Linked DNA regions of Homo sapiens: region 1 is linked to region 2. Evidence: promoter capture Hi-C in human tissues and cell types (Jung and others, 2019). All regions are on one chromosome and are shown on one strand. The core of a region is centred on a gene start or on the middle of the fragment in contact, and the rest is flanking DNA. Distances in the headings are between cores, read along the strand shown.

Region 1 (6,981 bases), core at 2,941-5,440, 130 kb before region 2:
ACTTCTTCTATTTAGGCTAGTTCCCCAGAGCTGTCCCACTTCTTTTTTTTTTTTTTTTTGAGACGGAGTCACCCAGGCTGGAGTGTAGTGGCCTGATCTCGGCTCACTGCAACCTCCGCCTCCTGGGTTCAAGCAATTTTCCTGCCTCAGCTTCCCGAGCATCTGGGACTACAGGCATGTGCCACCAGGCCTGGCTAATTTTTTGTATTTTTAGTAGAGACAGGGGTTTCACCATGTTAGCCAGGATGGTCTCGATCTCCTGACCTCATGATCGGCCTCCCAAAGTGCTGGGATTACAGGCATGAGCCACTGTGCCCGGCCAATCTGTCCCACTTCCTAACCATTTCTGGCTATAGCTCTGATGATTGTCGCCAGAGCTTTATCCCTACACTTCTTATCACCCTTACCCGGTAACGGTTGGCTTCCTGTTGGAAAGATGAGAAATCAGCTCACTTTACGTGCCATCTCCCTCTTCCTTGTGGTTTTTGTTTTTCTGTTTATAGTTCTCTTAGTGGTCAAATTGTTTATAACCTTAAATAATAAGCATAGACCTCTATTTCTTGGTCCAACAACTTTATAGACCCTGTGACCTGACCCCTAAGTTGTAAGATGAGGAACATGGGGTCCTTTTGTTTCTTTCCGTCTCTCTTCCCATTTGCCTCCCAAATTCCAGAATTCCATATGCTGCTTAATAGCCACCCACATGCCATGAGCCAGGCACTATGCGAAACACTTCACAAATGGGACTCACAAGCTCCTCATTGCAATGCCATGTGAGGGATTTACTGTTCTTTCCCCTGCATCACAGATGAGGAAACTAAGGCCCAGAGAGTATCATTCGTCCAAGTTCAAGGAAGTAACTGGCTAGGATTTGAGCCCAGGGACTTGGCTCCAGAGGTCATGGTCATGGTCTTAATCACAGCTACCTCTCAGCTATATCACTGTTTTTATTTTGTGAAGCTTACGACATTTGAATTGTATTATCTAATGGTTATCATGTCTTTCATGTGTTAGGGGTTGTCTGAAAAAAATAAACATTCATAATATTATGATTTTTGTAAATATGATTATTTGCAGATCCAAATGTGGTCTTGCATCAGACGAGAAGGAAATGCAAATCCAGTAGCCACCAACACTACCACTTGAAAGAGGCTTTTACAAGTGAAAGATGAAATGCATTATTTTTTCTTGCTTTTGTCATTTGGTCAAAATCATGTCATATTTTGTTTCATATTTAGGCCATGACTTTTCTTGTGCAGCTCATTTGTTTTTTCTGGCATTTCTAACAGCCTTTATTTCTTATTGATGGAGCAGCATGGCCCCTCATCTCGTTACTAAGATGATCCAGTGTGTAAACATACTGTTAAGTATGAGTGCATTTTTTTCTTGAATGCCTCAGGGCCCTTTGATTCCTTGTTTTAATTTGTATCCAGGCTGGGCGCGGTGGCTCATGCCTGTAATCCCAGCACTTTGGGAGGCCAAGGCAGCCAGATCACCTGAGGTCAGGAGTTCGAGACCAGCCTGGCCAACATGGCAAAACCTCATCTCTACTAAAAATAGCTGGGAGTGGTGGCAGGCTCCTGTAGTCCCACCTACTCAGGAGGCTGAAGCAGGAGAGTCACTCGAACCTGGGAGGCGGAGGTTGCAGTGAGCTGAAATCACACCACTGCACTCCAGCCTGGGTGACGGAAGAAGACTCTTGTCTCAAAAAAAAAAAAAAAGGAATAATTAATTTGTATCCATTGATTTCTAGACTTTTTTCTAGCTTGCTGCACAGCTGTCATTCCAGAATTTCTCTCATTGTCCTCCTGAATTAAGCCTACAATTTCTTTGATCCCATTTCTTCCTCTTTCTTAGATTTCTTTAATTTTTTTTCTTCTGATCTAGCAGCAGCCAAATGAAAATTTAAAAAAATTTGTTCTGGAGTACTTAGTCAAAAACTTGTTCTAAGATTATATGGAAAGTAAATCATATGCCATGCATATTCGAGAGTCTTTATTTTCCTCTTATACTTGTTTAATAATTTGGCTGAGTATAGGATTGTAGGTTCAAAATAACTTCCCTCTGAATTTTGAGGACATTGCTGTGTCTCAGTCTGGTATTCAGAGTTACTGATGTGAAGTCTGCTCAGAATCTGTTTCTTGTTCCTTTGTAGGCAGCATGATTTTTCTCTTTGAAAGTTTTAACGTTTATTTCTTTATCTTTATAGTTCTGAAATCTCACAAGAGTGCATTTCTCTGAGGATACTTTTTAACTTCTGCTTAGCACTTGGTATACCCTTTCAGTCTGAAGACCTGTGTTTTTCTTCAACTCTGGGAAATTTAAAAAATATTCTTTCCCTCTTTTCTGTAAATTTTTTTCTGTTCTTTCTTTTTAAATTTCTTATTAGGTGGAGGTTGACCTTGGGAATTAATCTTCTTGGCTTTGGCTTTTTTTTTTCTATTAAAAAATATCTCTTTGTCTTTTTGTTTATCTTCTTTGCTGCTTTTTTTTTTAGTTTCATTTTTAATTTCTAAGAACATCTTTTTTTTGTCTTATAGTCTCTTTTATGGGAACCTGTTCTTGTTTTATGCTGCATTACCTTTTAAATATCCCTGTGGATGCTAAATCGGAACTTTAAACGTTCTTCTGTGTTCCTTGAGTCATCTATTTTCTCTGAGATCAGTTGACCTTTTACTTATCTTTATCTGTTTTGGGGATGTGTGCTTCAGTCTTCCTCAAAGCTCTGGTGATCTTACTAGTCTGTTTATACTTAGGAATGAATGAGTACATTGATTTATCAAACAAATGGCCGGCATAGCTTTCCTCTCCTATTATTTGGAGATTTTTCTCCAACAGGCCTCTCCCCAAAATGGGAAGGACCAGTGGGGAACTCGGTACCAAGGTGGTACCTGTCCAGTGACATCTTCATTTTAGGACTTATGGGTGAGGATTAGGCAGTAGGCAGCCTGACCTCCTGCCCCACCTTATCCCCATGTCCCACCTATCCCCCAAAACAAAAGAAGAAGGGCCTGACTCACGCCACGGAGGAAGCTCCACACTTGGCTTTTCTGTGTCAGCCCAGCTTCTTGTGTGCAGTAAGGCTAAGGACGGGCAGGTCGCGGGGCTTGGGTGTCCTGTCCCAGCCCTGTGGCGCATCTCCCTGACTGCTCTTCTTCACAGCCTCGGTGGGGGGAAGCAGGGCGTCAGTGCTCCTGGAGCTCTACTGGGAAGACGGAGTGTGAGGCAGCATTCTGTTCATGTTCTGTGCTGTGGCTTCCTGCGTTTCTGCCCTTGGATCATGGCTGTGGAGCCTGCTTTCCCTCTTCCAGAAGCTGACCGGCTCTCATTCTCAGTGTTGTTAATGAATTTATTTTCTATTAAGCATGGAGATTTATTTTCCATTAACAGTGTTTTGGGAGGGAAGGGAGTTAGGCATGTGATTCATTCATTTTGAACTGGAAGCCAGTTATGTGTACTTTAGGCATGCAAATCTTAAGAGATGTTTATATACTCATACTCAGGTCTGTTTTTTTTTTTAAGTTCTTTTTTTTTTTTTTTTTTTTGAGATGGAGTCTCACTCTGTAGCCCAAGCTGGAGTGCAGTGGCACAATCTTCGCTCACTGAAACTTCCGCCTTCCGAGCTCAAGCGATTCTCATGCCTCAGCCTCCCGAGTAGCTGGGACTACAGGCGCGTGCCACCATGCGTGGCTAGTTTTTTGTATTTTAGTAGAGACAGGGTTTCACCATGTTGCCCAGGGTGGTCTCGAACTCCTGAGCTCAGGCGATCTGTCAGCCTTGGCACCCCAAAGTGCTAGAATTACAGGCATGAGCCACCGCGCCTGGCCTCAAGTTCTTAATCTTAACAATTTAATATATATTTTTATCAACTGAACTTAGGCTAGTTTTCAAAACAGTAATGAATTAGAAGGCTTTTGGGAGGATGCTGTTTCTAGTAGGAATGAGAAGTTAGAGCTGATGTACGAGTGATTAAAAGTGAACTTGAGAGCCCAAAGCTAAGTTGTCTGTACAACCCACGTTACCCTCGCAGCCCCTGGGGGCAGCATTGTATTGCAGGATCATGATAGGGGTCAAGAAGGTGGCCCCAAAGGTTGAGTGGTGGTCTATTTAAGAAGCAAATAAGCTTATAGCTTTAGATTTTCATAATCAATGATTAAAATTAAGCCTTTGCATTTGAAGGGGCCTCTTTCAATTTACCGGATAATCAGACATATGGAATGTTTCACCCATCCCACCAAAAACGAGGTATTGTCGTGGAGTCAGATTTCATCAATGTCTGGGGTTCCTACAGTGTGCCAGGCGCGGTTCTAAATGCTTTTTCACATGGGTCATTTAATTTTTACAAATTATTTGTATACTAACGTTTATACTAAGTTAAATCTTACTTTGTATAATGTAGCTAAGTTGAATTGTCTTGATAGTGTGTGTGTAGCCAATAAAGGGGGTGTGTTGCCCTCAAATCCAGCTTCATTACGAGGTTCTGCTGTGATGAATGTGGTACAGGGAGCCGTCAGGGCAACTGTCATGCTTCCTTACCTGCAAAGAAATCGGATGTCACATGGCTAAGCAATTTGTCCACAGTCACACAGCTAGGATGTAAGAGAGCCAGTTCTAGAACTCAGCTCTCCGGGTCTGTCCTGTTTCCATTTAGTTAGACGCTAGTGCACTAATACTCCAATGTTCAGGCTTTACGACTGTGATTTATGCTTCTTAATTCTCAGGTACCCCTGGGCCTTGGAGTTGCAGCCAGCATCCGAGTGGGCAATGCTCTGGGGGAAGGGAATGTAGAGGAGGCTTGGTGCTCCTGCACCACAGTTCTCCTGTGTGCTGGTGAGTCAAGCATTCTACTCCCTGGCATCTGTGCTGAACTTAGTGTGCTAAGTTAAAATCTATGTATCAGAATTTCTCTAGGAATTGAATCATATATATATATTCAACTAAAACATCTATTCTTTATGCTCTTTCAAATTTACAAAGTTAAATAAAGCTTTTAATTATGATTTTCTGTTAATGATAAACCAACTAAATAATGTTACACTTGGTTCTACTGAAATAATTCTAAAGACCAGGTTCAAGCAATTCTCTTGCCTCAGTCTCCCAAGTAGCTGGGATTACAGGCACGTGCCACCACACCCAGCTAATTTTTGCATTTTTAGTAGAGATGGGGTTTCACCATGTTGGCCAGGCTGGTCTTGAACTCCTGACCTCAGGTGATCTGCCTGCCTCGGCCTCCCAAAGTGCTGAGATTATAGATGTGAGCCACCACGCCTGGCCCAGTTTTATTATTTTCAAGTGTGCTTTCCTAGTGTCATCTGACCTCACTGATTTTAGACCAATGCCTAAACGTATTCTTATAAAATCTCAGGACCAAGGAGGTGATCAGATGGAGTAATAGGGACTGGATTTACCTTTCTGCTTTAAACAACTAAAAACTGGCCAACACATACATATAATATGTATATATATGTATGTATATATAATATATAATATGTATATATTATGTATGTATATATAATATATAATATGTATATATTATGTATGTATATATAATATATAATATGTATATATTATATATGTATGTATATATGTATAAATGTATATGTATATATGTACATTATATATATATATATTAAAATATATATATATATTTTAAAATAGTTTTCAATCCCTTGAGGCCAGGAGTTTGAGACCAGCATGGGCAACATAGCAAGACCCATCTCTACAAAAACTACAAAAATTGCCTAGATGTGGTGGCACATGCTTGTAGTCCCAGCTCTGTGGGAGGATCACCTAAGCCCAGGAAGTTGGGGCTGCAGTGAGCCATGATTATGCTACTGCACTCTAGCCTGGGTGACAGAGCAAGGCCTTATCTTAAAAAAGAAAAAAGTTTTCAGACATTGGACAACAGGCAGCCCAAAGAGGGGAAAAAAATGAGAGAACACTATGATTACCCAGTGTACTAGGGGAGAGTTTCCAGGCCATAGCACAGGAAGAGGGAAAGCCCTGCTATCTCTGTGAGATGAAGAAATGGAGTTGGGAGTTTTGGGAGGCCATGTGACTTGAGTTCACAAGGCAGGGGACCAGAGAGGAGAGAGTTTGAGAGGGAGTGCTTTCAAGATCTTGGCTGGGCACAGTGGCTCACGCCTGTAATCCCAGCACTTTGGGAGGCTGAGGTGGGTGGATCAACTGAGGTCAGGAGTTTGAGACCAGCCTGGCCAATATGGTGAAACCCTATCTCTACTAAAAATACAAAATTAGCCAGGCATAGTGGCACACACCTGTAATGCCAGCTACTTGGGAGGCTGAGGCAGGAGAATTGCTTGAACCCAGGAGGCAGAGGTTGCAGTGAGCTGAGATCACACCACTGCACTCCAGCCTGGGCCACAAACTGAGACTCCATCTCAAAAAAAAAAAAAAATCCACAGAGGGGCTCTCTCAAGTCTAGCTGACTACCAAACTGGATGTGCATGTGAGGATGCTACTGGAAGCCAGCGGGACACACCTGAAAGGAGCAGACAAAACAATCCCTGGAGTTCATAAGGGCTGGGAAGAGTTTGTGTTCCCAACATCCAGAATGAAACAACCTCGTAATACATAAGACAGCTGGTGGAGTTCTCAGGAGGGTTTTGCCTGGGTAGTAGAGGAATATTAGCCCTAAAAATAAAGAGTGTTCTGGTCCTGCTTAACAAAGCTTAAAAGCAAACCTCAAGAAGGTCAAACTGCTTCTAGGAAGCAACTGCATCACAGAACTTAACTGTATCAAAGCTCAAGAGCATTTAAAATAGTACAAGAATATGTAGTAACCAACAAAGTAAAAATCACAATGTCTGCCAATTAATAATTACCAGGCATACAAAGAAATAATAAACTAAAATCCATAATAAAGAGAAACATCAATCAATAGAAACTGACCCAGAAATGAACAGATAAAATTACTACTCAGGAATACTAAAATGGTTTCTATAATTTTGTTTAATCTTT
Region 2 (6,264 bases), core at 2,794-5,293:
TAGCCGGGCATGGTGGTACACGCCTGTTGTCCCAGCTACTGGGGAGGCTGAGGCAGGAGAATTGCCTGAACCCGGGAGGCGGAGGTTGCAGTGAGCCGAGATCGCGCCATTACACTCCAGCCTGGGCGACAGAGCGAGACTCTGTCTCAAATAAATAAATAAAATAAAATAAAAATAAAAGTGCAGGAGCAAAGAGGGTAGTCGGTGGGAGGATGGGCTCCGGAGCGCTGGACCCCAGGCAGCATGTGGGGACAGCAGGGGGCTGCGAATGCAGAGGTGTCTGGTCTTGCTCAGGGTGAGGGACGGAACAGCCCCTGTGAGAACTGGGAGGGAGGGGAGAGCCCCCCATGCCCTCCGGGGTGCCAAGCTGCTCTGGTTCCTGGTGTGGAGAACCAAGTGGTCCTGCGTGGGGCTGAGGAATGGGGAGGACCAGAAGTTCAGGGTGTCGGGGCAGCAGGAAGTTGAAATGGGGGACGCTGCGGGCGGGACGCGGAGGCCGGGCCAGGAGGAAAAGGCCAGAGGGCGGAAGAGGCGGCGGGGGCGCGCGGGGCGCGGCGGAGGGGAGGGCGGTGCGCCCAGTCTCCGCGACCGAGGGGCCAGGTGGCCCCAAGTCCTTCCTGAACCTCTCTGGGTCGCACTCTCCCCAGCCCCTCCCCCCACGCCCCATCGCATGGCCCCGACACTGGCAGAAGGCGGCCGCCCAGCCTGAGCACCTTGTGCAGGTCTGCGGCCAGCGCGCCCACCAGCTCCTGCTCCTGCTCCTGGATCAGGCGCTGCAGCGCCTCCAGCTGCTGGATCCGGAACTGCAGCGGACGGGTCCTGCCCGAGCTGAAGGCGGCGCGGGCGCGCTTCACGGCCTCGCTGATCTTGCTCATGGCGCCTGGGGACAGAGAGCACCTGCAGCTGGCTGAGGGGCACGAGCGCGCCCTGCCTCCCACCCTGCCTGAATTCTATAGGAAGGGACTTCCCTGGGCTCGGCCTTGGGGAAAATGGCCTTTCCGCTGGAAGGTCCACTTTCTGCCTCGCCTCCTCTCCCGCCCCTCACTCAGACGCCTGGGCCCTGGCTGCCTTGCTAGCCCCTGAGAAGGTGACACCCGCCGCAACCCGAGTCCTAAGCCGAACTGCTGCTGGGGGCTCTTGGCAGCGTGCTCGCGGCAGGGCCTTTCCCGGCCTTTTCCGCTCCCTTACTTGCTTGCAAAGCTGATGGCACAATCCCAGACCAACACCCCCAGAGCTCTGCACACGCAGTCAGCCACTCTCCAGATCAGATTGGAGGGGCGCAGTCCGCGATTCCACACCCAAGCCGATAAAGAAAAACCCAGCACCACCCTCCTGGCTAAGCCATTGTTCTAAAAAGCGCTGGTTTCTTGGCAGAGCTGAACCAGGCTTGGTGTGTAAACCACGCGTGCCACACCTGGGAGACGCACGCCCATGCCCGCCAAGGATTCAGAGAGCTGCAGATTTCCACAAAGAGGTGTGGAGGCGATTCCTGCTACCAATACACGAAAGTATAGTGGCAAATCGGGATGGCCCTGCTGGGGGCAATTTGGCAATATGTGGCAAAAGTTTTTCAAACATACTTCTCTGTGACGAAAAGGTCCTACAGCCTTTCCTAAACATTCACGAATAAGAAAGTCATCACTGTTTTCTATAACAGGGAAGTATTGTAAACATCCCAAAGATCCGAAAGAAAGGAGACAGTTTAAATGACTCCTGTCACACCCACGTAAGGGTTTACTGTGCAGTATTTAGGGATTAGGTGGAGCAGGCTATTCAGCATGTTTGTAGGGGCTCTCTCTGCACCAGGGGTGTCTCAGGCACTGGGGATAAGAAAGAAAACAGGTTACAGGCCGGGCGCGGTGGCTCACGCCTATAATCCTAGCAAACACTTTGGGAGGCTGAGGTGGGCGGGTCACCTGAGGTCAGAAGTTCAAAACCAGCCTGGCCAACATGGTGAAACCCTGTCTCTACTAAAAATACAAAAATTATCTGGGAGTGGTGGCAGGCACCTGTAGTCCCAGCTACTTGGGAGGCTGAGGCAGGAGAATTGCTTGAACCAAGCTGAGAGGAGGAGGTTGCAGTGGGCCGAGATTGGGCCATTGCACTCCAGCACTTTGACCGGGAGAATGGAGCCATAATCACAGAGTTCTCCTATTAGATTAGTGGTAGGAGGTAAGGCAAGGTTAGTGAGATTTGCTAGAAGTCAAGAGGCTGTCAGTGGAAGCGGTATTTGAAGGCCTCGGGTAAGTAATATAATTACTTTCAGCGAGACTCCATCTAAAAAAAGAAAAAGAAAGAAAGAAAGAAAGAAAAACAGAAAACAAGTTACAGAACAACAGATGTACCAGGCGTGTGCATGTGTGTGTGTGCGTGTGTGTGTGTGCGTGTGCGTGTGTGTGCATGTGTGTGTGTGCGTGTGTGTGCATGTGCGTGTGTGTGTGCGTGCGTGTGTGTGCATGTGCGTGTGTGTGCGCGCGTGTGCGTGTGTGTGTGGGCGTGCACGCTCTAACATGCAAGAAAGGACTAGAACGGTAGCCCCCGACACGATGAGACAACTGATGGGGGTGGAATTATTGATGATCTGTTTTCCTCTTATGCAATGTTTGACTTTTTGCAATGAGCTTGTATTTTTTAAATTTTGGTGCGTTTTAAGATAGGCACTACATGCTCATGAAACAAAATGTAAAATATAGCAAAGGGGCACAGAAAAAAGTCTGCCTCCCTCCTCCCTGCTCCATCAGCTGTCAGGTGCTGCCCCACAGAGGGGCCACTGTTACCAGTTCCTTACTCCCCTTCCTGAGATACTCAGCCCACTTGCAGACCCGGCATAACTTTTAACATCAGCAGAAATAGGGTATTTCCATTTTTTTAAAAAACCCTATATATCATATGTAATATATAATTATATTGTATATAGATATATGGTCCTGCCTACATTCCAGCGAGTGGCTTCCAATCCTTCCTCTGCCTCCCCTCCCCATAGGCTGACCCCTAATCCCAGGCTTTCTGCACAGGGAGGAGGGACCTGCTGGCATTGAGGGTGCTCTAAGCCTGGCCCTTCCATGGTCCCTCCCTATGTTCTGATAGGAGGCTGGGAAAGCCCCCTCACTGGGACCTCCTCAGTCCCATGGGCCAGGCCCCTCCTGCTGACCACAACCCAGGAGAGAAGGTCCCGCTTCTCTCCCGAGCCTTGTACGGTCAAACCAAGGCAGGCAGCCCAGGTGGGAAGAGCCTGGTGAGCGTGGGACGGGATTGGCCTTGCACCCCAGCATCGCCACTTGGAACTGTGGTCTCTGGGCTGGACGGCCTTCCCAGGACTTCCCCGAGAGACAGGTTAACAAAGGTGCCACTTCACAGAGATGAGTGGACACCATCACGTCGCAGCTGCACCCAAATGGGAGCTGCTGCAGCATGCACTGGGGGCCTCCCCAGAGCCCGTCGCCTCACACCCCACATTCCTGCACCCCGCTCCTCTCACCTGTGCCAGTGTTGACTTTGCCCCCCAGTGACACCTCCTCCCCTCCTCATTGCCTTCCATCCTCACAAAAGCTCTGTAGTGATGCCCATGAAGAAGAAACGGTTATGAGTGCATTTTACAGATGAGGAAAGGGAGACTGAGAAACGTTTAATGCTGTATCTGATCTCACAGTTAGCAGGTGGCATGTCAGGGTTTGAACCCACATGCATCTCTGTCAGCAGCTCATGCCTTTAGCACTCGGCTCTGCTGCCTTCCTTCCAGTCATGGAGTCTGACGGCCCATCAGGGCCTCTCACTCCACGGCCACCTTGGTGTCCCTGCTCCGCGGATCCCTGGGACCTCTGCCTCCTGGTTTGGGGGATGGCAGAGCTGCCAGAGGTCCAGGAGGATGCTCCAGAGATGATGGTCCCAGAGGCAGGGACCCCCTGGAGAGATGATGTAGGACTCTTGACACTTAGGGCCCCGGCTCTGAGTGCAGACTCCACCTAGACAAGAGAAAAAATAAGGAATGCAGGGAAGAGGATTACCTTTGACACAGCCTCTCCCGGTAACTGGGGCTCCTGGAACGGCAAGAGCCAAGAGGGGACGTATTTAAGGACCCTGCTTCCCGTCCATTGAGCCCTTGGAGTTCCTGCCCAGGAAGTTTGCGTGACAAGAAAAAAAAATATTCAAATGTGGGGTGTGGCGTCCTCTGGACCTCTGCTCCCTACAGCCCAGGTTTTGGGGATTAGGTCCCGGGCTGTTTGCTTTTGTTCACTTCTGAAATGCGAGAATGTTTCTGAAGGCTTGGGCAGGGCACATCTCCAATCTTCAAAAGAGCCTATGTTTGCCCTGGGCGTGGGGGCTGCTGATTGATTCAGCCTGGCATGGAGCTCTTCCAGCTTTCCAGACTTGCCGCTGCCAGATGCGGTTCTCTGAGTTCTCTGGTTACATAAGATCGGCAGGGCTCAGCCACGAACCACAGTGAGAGCATGCAGCTCCCCCGAAACGCACCCCCAGCCACCGCTGCCCCGGGCCCTTCACATCCCCCAGTGTGCACAGGGCCCCATTGAGTCAGAGATCCTAACCCTGGGGAGCCACAGGCTGGGGACTTTTGATGGGGGTCTCCAATCCATAAATCTGCTCTCTCGTTGAATAGCTGAGAAGAGGGCCAAGGGTCTGTGTGGTCACCGAAAACCAGAGATGCTTGGGAAGGAAGGAGTCTGGAAAAGCCGTTCCCACGCTGTCTGATCAATGTTCGCTGGGCTCCTGCTCTGCACCACGCTGTGGGGAGGAGGCAGGTGTGGAACAGACTCTCGGCCCCTCTCACCAGGCGCTTCCCGCCACCCTCACCCGCCTGCAGGCAGACTGCTTACCAGCATGGGGTCCCTGCTTCCCATTTCATTCGAGGAAAACACAAGGTTCCGGTCCTGGCCTACGAGTCCTGAGGATGTGCTCTGGCCCTCCTGCTTCTCTCCACCTGGAGCCCCCTTCCCCTACATCCACCCACACGGCTACGCTCCAATGTGCTGTGGAAAATAGCACAATGCTGTCGTCTTCCTCCATTATTTTTTCTCTGGAGCGTTTATATCTTGTTTGCTACCTGTCCCTTAACTCCTGACAGCTAGAATTTGATTTGTTCACTGCTGTAACCTCCATACAGCATTTATAGTAGATGCTCAATAAATATTTATTGACTGACAAAATAAACAGGAAATTTCAAAATAATGTGAACACTGTAGTAACCAGGTAGGCAGAGGATGCTAGAGGGGCTGGGGTGAGAGTCCGTGGGAGGGAACATCATCTGAGCTGAGTGAGAAGCATTTGGGCAAGGAACAGCAAGGGGGCTGGAAGAGCAGAAGCAAAGGCACAGAGGCTGGGAACGTTATGTCACGAAAAAGTGCGATGTGTCCACTGTTGCCAGCAGGAGGTGTGGAGGTGAATGACTCTCCTGGGGCGGGGGCTCACGGAGGCCTGTGGGCCAGGCTGGCTGTGGGGGTGCAGGGCGCTGAGGAGATTATCAGACAGACAAATGTCTGCTATTTTTTGTTTTAGAGAACCCCCTGGACAGGGCACAGTGTGAGAAAGGTCTAGCCCAAAGGCTGCAGCTTCCAGCAATGCAGGCAAGAAATGACGAGACCCCCAAATAAGACTAACAGAATGGGAAACATTCCAGAAACAGCAGAAAGAAGCATCTGCAGGACCTCGCACCTGTGCAGGGGCTGGACTGGGTGGTAGGTGCAAAGTGGGGTGCCTCCTGAGAGGGGAGAAGACCGAGCCTGTGCCAGCCTCTCCCCTTTTCTGGTGGCAGCAGCTGATTATCTTTGCAGGCAACCCCTTCCTACTTGGTGAGATGATCAACCAGGTGCCTTCTCCAGGCCAGCCATGGGTTGGGGTGGGCTCCCCATGAGGCCTCCCTGACTCTCCTGGGAATTTGGATCTTGAGTAGAGGGCAGAATGCAAGGCCGAAGGCCATTCGGAGCTGACTTCTTGTGGCAGCGGCCCTCCCCTGGGAGAACCATGGAAGCAACTAGCAAAAGCCAGCAACACAGCATTGAGTACACGAAGTGACCAGAACAGTGCCTGGCGGGCCGAGGGCATCCTGGAAAGGTTAGGTGGTGTGGGTGTCATCAAAAGTGGCAGCAGTAGTGGTGGAAGCGTCAGAGCAAGGAGCCTAAAAGCAGTTCAAATCTACGAAGAACAAAATCCTTGTTTGCGTGTTTGGGTTTTGGTTATAGTTTCAGTAGTGGCAAAAGTGTGGGAGTGTGGGTTGTGCTAGAAACTTGCAGATACTTGCTTTTCAGATTT

The links. Contacts are between HindIII fragments. The study calls those that stand out against the background at their distance.
Region 1: a fragment that was not itself captured here is called in contact with the fragment with the promoter of ALDH3A1 in region 2 in 9 of the 25 tissues and cell types used here (adrenal gland, aorta, heart left ventricle and 6 more).

What each region holds. Positions count from the first base shown.
Region 1 is chr17:19,611,067-19,618,047 of GRCh38, forward strand. No RefSeq gene overlaps it. Among named protein-coding and RNA genes, the nearest start is that of ALDH3A2, 34 kb to the right of the region's middle. The HindIII fragment of the contact is 3,298 bases long and covers 2,542-5,839 here.
Region 2 is chr17:19,744,255-19,750,518 of GRCh38, forward strand. ALDH3A1 (aldehyde dehydrogenase 3 family member A1) reads right to left here and starts at 4,044. Exons shown (of 11, transcript NM_000691.5): 1 at 4,005-4,044; 2 at 714-880. The coding sequence starts at 875. RefSeq lists a silencer at 634-693 and enhancers at 753-1,720, 6,001-6,264. The HindIII fragment of the contact is 25,713 bases long and covers 1-6,264 here.